2 separate regions of the Homo sapiens genome follow, and region 2 is linked to region 1. Evidence: promoter capture Hi-C in 16 types of primary human blood cells and fetal thymus (Javierre and others, 2016). All regions are on one chromosome and are shown on one strand. The core of a region is centred on a gene start or on the middle of the fragment in contact, and the rest is flanking DNA. Distances in the headings are between cores, read along the strand shown.

Region 1 (3,354 bases), core at 484-2,983:
GGTTGAACCTGGGCAGCAGAGGTTGCAGTGAGCCCAGATCCCGCCACTGCACTCCAGCCTGGGTGATAGAGTGAGACTCTGTCACAAAAAAAAAAAAAAAAAAAAAAGAAAGCCAACTAGTTAAACAAACATAGCACTTTTTTGTTTTATCTGAAGACAACTTTAAAAATAAAGTTTGTGGCATGACAAATCACAATGACAAGTATCCTACTAGTCAAACTGGCTTAATGTATTTAATCAAGAGAACATTCTAAGAAAGGTGTGGAGGCTTTTTATGTGGCTCTACCCCCAGAATATAGGACAAACAGCTCAGCATCACAAAATACCACAATCTAGAAACACAGGTACTCAAATTTCTCTGGTACAGCACCACCATTTGCAAGCAAACATGCCAGTAAGCTCCCAGAAGTGAGCATGCTGAGTAATTCTCAAAAGGGTGGCTTACTAGAAGAAACCTGCTGGCAAAACCTAATCTCCTTCCCCTAAAAAAGACCCCACATACTACAAAATATCCTGGCTCATAATACACTTTAAAATCAAATGCGGCTGGGCATGGTGGCTCACGCCTATAATCCCAGCACTTTGGGAGGCCAAGGTGGGAGGACCACCTGAGGTCAGGCGTTTGAGACAAGCCTGACGTTTGGCCAAGTGGTGAAACCCGTCTCTACTAAAAATACAAAATTAGCCGGGCATAGTGGTGCACGCCTGTAGTGCCAGCTACTCTGGAGGCTGAGGCAGGAGAATCGCTTGAGTCCGGGGCGTGGAGGATGCAGTGAGCCGAGATCGCGCCATTGCACTCCAGCCTGGGTCACAAGAGCGAAACTCCGTCTCGGAAAAAAAAAAAAAAAAAAATCAAATACAAGATTGGGAGCAACTTAACCTCTCCAAAATCGTTTAATATGACTACGCTTGAAAATAAATATGGAGAAGTGGGGTAGGTTGCAGAAATATGAAATACTGAAGACAGAAAATAGGGACTAAAAGTGACCCTGTATCCCACCGGAGACTAAGTTAGCACAGTATTTAACAAGCAACAGTTTGTGAGGACAAGGCTAAGGGGTGGCCTGTCACATCTCCGTCCTCAGGAGGACGCTGAATAGAGGGAAGATAAAACAGAATGGATTTCAACTGGACATAAGGAACTTCTGTAGCCAAAAAAAAAAAAAAAAAAGTGATAAAACTAGCCCTGCTCACCAAAGACTAGAGCTACCATTTCGACATTTGAAAAGGGTAAATCAGTCAAGATCTTTAGGTCATTCTCTTGGGTTGAAATCAGGTAGCCGAGGTACTTGTTGCCTATAACGTGATTATTCAGGGACTACTATTTCCAAATAGTTGCCAATAAGTACTTACTTGACTGACTAGGGAAGGCTCACCCAAGAGCCAGAACACCTCGCGGTCCCAACTCCTCAAAATGCAGAGGAGGAAATCAAGAGAACAGAGACAAGAGCATGGATTCAGGCTGCCAATAAAGGCTGGATCCCAGGTTCCATGTTGATATTTGAACAATTAGTGACTTTGAACCCCTCCATTTGATTCATGGTTACTTCCTGGCTGCAGCTGTTAAAGCTGCCACCTATGCATCCCCTCGGATTCAGCACCGCATCGCACAAGAGTTCCCCTACGACTCTAGGCACCCCGCATCTCTAGCCAAGCTTCTTTCAGCCCTTAATTTCCCCCCGGCTCTCGACGGAGAGGTGGTAAAAGGATGAGTAAGCATGCAGTGGCTGATCTTGGTCAAAGAGCACAGACCCTGGCACAGGCGGTGGAAAGCGCAGTTGGGGAGTGCATCCAGTGAGCGGCAGGCAGGTACAAGCTTCCCATGACAGATAGTCACCCCGTTCCGCAATCACGGGAGCCTCGGAACCCTCGCTTTCACCTCCCCATCCCCTCAACTGTGGCCCGGTGCACGCCTTCTATAGACAGTTACTTCAAAACAGCCCGAAAAGATGAACTAATTTCTCCAGGCTTCCGGATGTCGGGAGACAATACAGCCTCACCCTGAAGCGTGTCTAAGTTCAATCGCTCTGGTTTCACACAGGCCAGAAAACCGCTCGTTCTGTAACACCCCGTCCGCCCCCCAACCCGACCCTAAGCCACCTTATTCAGCAATAAGGCGACTGCTAGGAACTGTTTCAAATGTATGTCAACCTTTTGGGGGAAGAAAAAGAAAACAAAAAGACTTTGGAATTACTTCAACAGCCTGGTTGCAAGTACCTGACCTTATTCCTTCCCGAACAAAAATAGGGCACCGAGAGATCAGACATTCCTTTTTCTCTGTCTTCCTACCCAGGCCGCCAGCAGCATCTCGAGGGCCTCCAGAGGGACCTCTTTTGGGGGATCGCCTAGGTTTCCTATGCAGAAAACTTGCGTTCAGTGCCCAAACGTCCTCTAAATCCCTAGTTTTCTTTACAAGGGTAAACTTCACCACAGATGGAATGAAGCCGAGGCGCTGCTTCCTTTGTTAAAATCCCACGGACTTTCTTTTCCTTACATCGGGGGCGGGGTGGGGGAGACCGCCAGCCCCGGTCACGCGCGCCCGCGGCGAAGGCGGGGAGGCAGGTGTGACTCCCTCGCGGCAGCCTCTAGCGCGGCTCCCCGGCGCCGCCTCACTTCCCCAGACGAGACCCGGACTCCTCGGCGGCCGACGGCCCCCGCCCCGCGCCTCCCACGCCCTCCGCCCGGCCGCCACCTGCCCGCCCGGCCCGCGGAGGGCGCCCAGCTACCGCGGCTCCTCCACCGGCGCGGACGCCGCCCCGACCGCCACCACCTCCGCTCAGAATGGTGGTTACGAAACGCGCGGCCCCCGCCCGCCCCGCCACATGGCCGCGCCGGCTCCAAACTTCGCAGGCCCGGCCGCGACCCGGCTCCCAGGCGAGGCCCCGGCGGCGCGAGGAGGCCGCGCGGCCACCGGCCACTCACCCACAGACCGGTAGCCCAGGATCGCGATCTTCCGGGACTTGGACTGCGGCATCTTGGCGGCCTCCTCAGCCCCGGCCCAACCACATCAACCGCGGCGGCGGTGGCTCCTGCTGCTGTGATCGGCGGCGGCCGCGCCGGGAGAGAGCGGCATACAGAGCAGGGGCGGCGGCGGGCGCGGCTGCCTCTCGCTCGCTAGCTCGCGCGCTCCCAACCGCCCGGAACCGACCGCGCGGCGGCGCCCCTCCCCCCCACAACACGCCCACGTGACCGGCCGGCGTCAGCACCGCCCCTCTTCGCGCCGTGGCCCGCCGCCTCCGCCCCCCGAAATACGCGGGGGGTGCGTCGGGGCGACGTTTTACTTTAAAGGCAAAAAAAGGGGACGCCGCGATGCCCCCAGAAAAGTCACGACTGAAACTCGCTGCGTCATGACCC
Region 2 (3,354 bases), core at 541-3,040, 290 kb after region 1:
GACACGGATGTCACCACGAGCCCTCCTCAGCATTGGACAGTTTGCTCTCCTAACTATGATGTAGGAGAGTCTATTTCCCGCACTGACTCACCAACAGGCTATTTTGTTCAACACCTGGACTTTTGCTGGGTTGGTAAGACGTGGCATCTGTGTAACCCAAATTGACATTTGTTTTCTTTATTCCGTGGTGTTCCATCGCGGCACAGAGTCGGCACTTGAGGTGGCATCCTGTGGAACTGCTTCTCAAACTGCACGTAGGACATAGGTCATAAAATCCACTCAGGACACACAGGTTTTGTTGCGGCTGCTGTTCATAGAACAAAACCAGAGCTCCAGGAGTTTTCTGGGATGTCTATATCCAATAGGTCATGATGTGAAGTTCCTCGCCGTGGCTCACTGTCAAAGTCTGAAAGCCGCTGCGGAAGTGGCTCAACGCATGGCAGGCACAGGGGCTCCATGGGGTAAGTAGCCCACAGGACAGCCACTAGGAATGTGGTCCCTCCCTGCATACATGTGCTGTCTCCTGTTGAGTGGGCGAATCTGTTCCTCCATCCTTGAGTTGGGGCAGCTGTGCTCAACAGAAATGCAGCAGAAACCACACCACCTGACTTCTGGGTTAGGTGAGAAGGAACCTCGCAGTTCCTCCTGGATCTCTTGTAATGTCTGCCGCGGGTGAAACCAGCTGCCACGTTAGGAATCTGCACCAAGACCACCATGTTATGAGGAAGCTCAAGCCAGCCACGTGGAGAGGCTGCACGGATGGAGAAACAGCTGCACGGCCAGCCCCAGGGAGTGATGTGAGAGTGAAGGAGCCTCTAGGATGTGCCAGGCTCAGCTGCCACCTGACTTTTCAAATAGGAGGAACCCCCAGTGAGAACTCAGCTGAGCCAGATGACTCCTAAATCCATGAAAGATGATTTCAAATCATATTTTTAAGTTTTGGGGTGGTTTGTTATGTAGCAATAGGTGATCTTGTGACTATGTAACCCTGGGAAAGTTACTTCATTTCTCTGTTTTTTAATCTAAAAACTGGGAATCATGGGAGTTCCTACTGGAAAATGAGTTAACATATAGAAGTATAGAACCACATATGAGTTAACAAAGACATGGCTGTGATGCCTGGGACTCATTTGGAAAACATGAGTTATCACTTTAAAATGCTTCACTGAGTTTAGAGGCAATATACTATGATTACTGAACCCAGGGACACTACAGATTCTTCCTTCTCAGAGCTTTGATGAGAGGAAAGAGGCAGATTCCACCTTACCTTCAGGTTTGCCAAGATCCTTCCCCAACGTACAAGTGAAAGGGAGCTCAGGAAGGCAGAATGAAGGGACACATCAAATCCTTGGTGACAAAGTTTAGGACAGGCTGGGCACAGTGGCTCACGCCTATAGTCCAAGCATTTTGGGAGGCCAAGGCAGGCTGATCACCTGAGGTCAGGAGTTCTAGACCAGCCTGGCCAAACCTGTCTCTACTAAAAATACAAAAATTAGCTGGGCGTGGTGGTGGCCGCCTGTAGTCCCAGCTACTCAGGAGGCTGAAGCAGGAGAATCGCTTGAACCCGGGAAGCGGAGGTTGCAGTGAGCCAGGATCCCACCACTGCACCCCAGCTTGGGCGACAGAGCGAGACTCCGTCTCAACAACTATGACAACAACAAACAGTTTGGGACAGAGAAAAATCCCTGTAAACTTCAAGCCTTTTGGGGTGCTCTTGGGTGAACTCCTAAATTGCTCAAGGGCTAACTTCCTCATTTATTATTAAAAGAAAAAAGAAAAAGGCAGAGGCCAGTGGTGAAGGCTGGCGATTTCTGGTCTAGGGTGAGAGATAACAGAAAGTAACAATGGAGGCTCTCGCAGTGCTCGCAGGCACTCAAGGAACGGAAAGGAAATTGCACATTTCACCCGTGACTGCATAGGCAAACGAGAACAGCAAGTCTCTGCTTTCAGCTGGAATGTTATCAACTTCGGTCACGCTGATTATCTCAGGCTGATCAGGAAGGCTGGTACCAGGAGTGAGTGACTAAATGAAGAAATTACTAATTAACAAATGCTTGGGTGGACAATCCTTCAAAATTTAGGATCAATGGGAGGAGACAGAAGGAGTCTTGGGAGGATTTTTAAAATATGCCAGAGCTGGCTGGGTACAGTGGCTCACACCTGTAACCTGAGGACTTTGAGGTGGAGACGGGCAGACCACCTGAGCTCAGGAGCTCAAGACCAGCCTGGGCAACATGGCAAAACCCTGTCTCTACTAACACTATAAAAAGTTAGCTGGGCGTGTTGGTGCATGCTGTAGTCCCAGCTACTCAGGAGGCTGAGCCACGAGAATCGCTTGAACCTGGGAGATGGAGGTTGAAGTGAGCCAAGATCGCACCATTGCACTCCAGCCTGGGGAAAAAAAAAAGCCAGGCCTCCTAATGTACTCATTTAAACATCACTTGTGTCCACCTGGGTTCAGAATTGCGCTGGACATGGGATACACAAAGGTAAGACATGGACCCACCCTCAAGTCTGAAGGTGGAGGTGGGGAAGGGCAGAGGCTGTAAAGGGTCAGAGGGACCTTGTGGAGTGGTGGAAATGTTCCAGATCACACTGTGGCGGTGGTCACATGACTGTGCACACTTACGACAACCCATCTAATTGTATACTGTCAGTCAAAGGGCATTATATGTAAATCACACCTCAATAAAGCTGACCAAAAAGTGGCCAGTCAGCCACCAGCAGACCCATGGGATAGGGGAAGAAAAACAAGCAATCTACAGAACGTGGGAAAATGCCTATATTAAGAATCCTGGAATACTCCATGTGCTTTTTCATGCAGCGGGAGTGGAATTTTCAGGAAGCAGCTGTGCTGTGGGTGACGGTCATACTTTATTCTCTAAAACTCTCCAGTTTCAATTGGCCTCTTGGTGCCAAAGCACCATGGCGTGTTACACCTATCAGATCGGGCACACTGCCCCTTCTTCCCAACCTACGAGCTGAAATGGCCAGCACTGCGCCTTCCAGAACCCAGCGTAGATGCACAGCTGCCACGGAGGTAGGAAGAATGATTCGTTTGCCACCAAAAGCCCAGTTTCTCCAACAGGTAAGTCCCAGCAGGGTGCGATGTCCCAAACCTACACAACCGTTTCCACTGCCTATTCCCGGGCCCCTCACTTGGGTCAAGGCAGCATTTCAGAGGAAGCCAGGAGCGAGAACTCGTGCATCCGAACCCTTCTCTGACTTGGCGGGTTATTGGATTAGCTACTCTCAGAAGACCCAAAAGGCATAGGGGAGAGAAGAGATAAATCTGGATGCGGTGGAGACAACGGCCAAACAGAAAAACCGCTTGGAGAATAAAAGTCGGGGGAA

Evidence for each region. The method cuts DNA at HindIII sites, captures the fragments that hold promoters and counts their contacts. A CHiCAGO score of 5 or more calls a contact.
Region 2: a contact is called between the fragment with the promoter of PRKAG2-AS2 here and a fragment that was not itself captured in region 1, in 1 of 17 cell types (M1 macrophages). The highest score is 6.9, in M1 macrophages.

Annotation. Positions count from the first base shown.
Region 1 is chr7:151,516,538-151,519,891 of GRCh38, forward strand. It overlaps RHEB (Ras homolog, mTORC1 binding), which reads right to left. Exons shown (of 8, transcript NM_005614.4): 1 at 2,923-3,354. The coding sequence starts at 2,974. Among named protein-coding and RNA genes, the nearest start is that of RHEB, 1.7 kb to the right of the region's middle. RefSeq lists an enhancer at 1,489-1,538 and silencers at 2,569-2,678, 2,609-3,038, 2,749-2,868, 3,039-3,198. The HindIII fragment of the contact is 161 bases long and covers 1,654-1,814 here.
Region 2 is chr7:151,804,548-151,807,901 of GRCh38, forward strand. PRKAG2-AS2 (PRKAG2 antisense RNA 2) reads left to right here and starts at 1,791. Exons shown (of 3, transcript NR_171033.1): 1 at 1,791-2,489; 2 at 2,825-3,088. The region is part of intron 1 of PRKAG2 (protein kinase AMP-activated non-catalytic subunit gamma 2); the gene reads right to left. The HindIII fragment of the contact is 22,647 bases long and covers 1-3,354 here.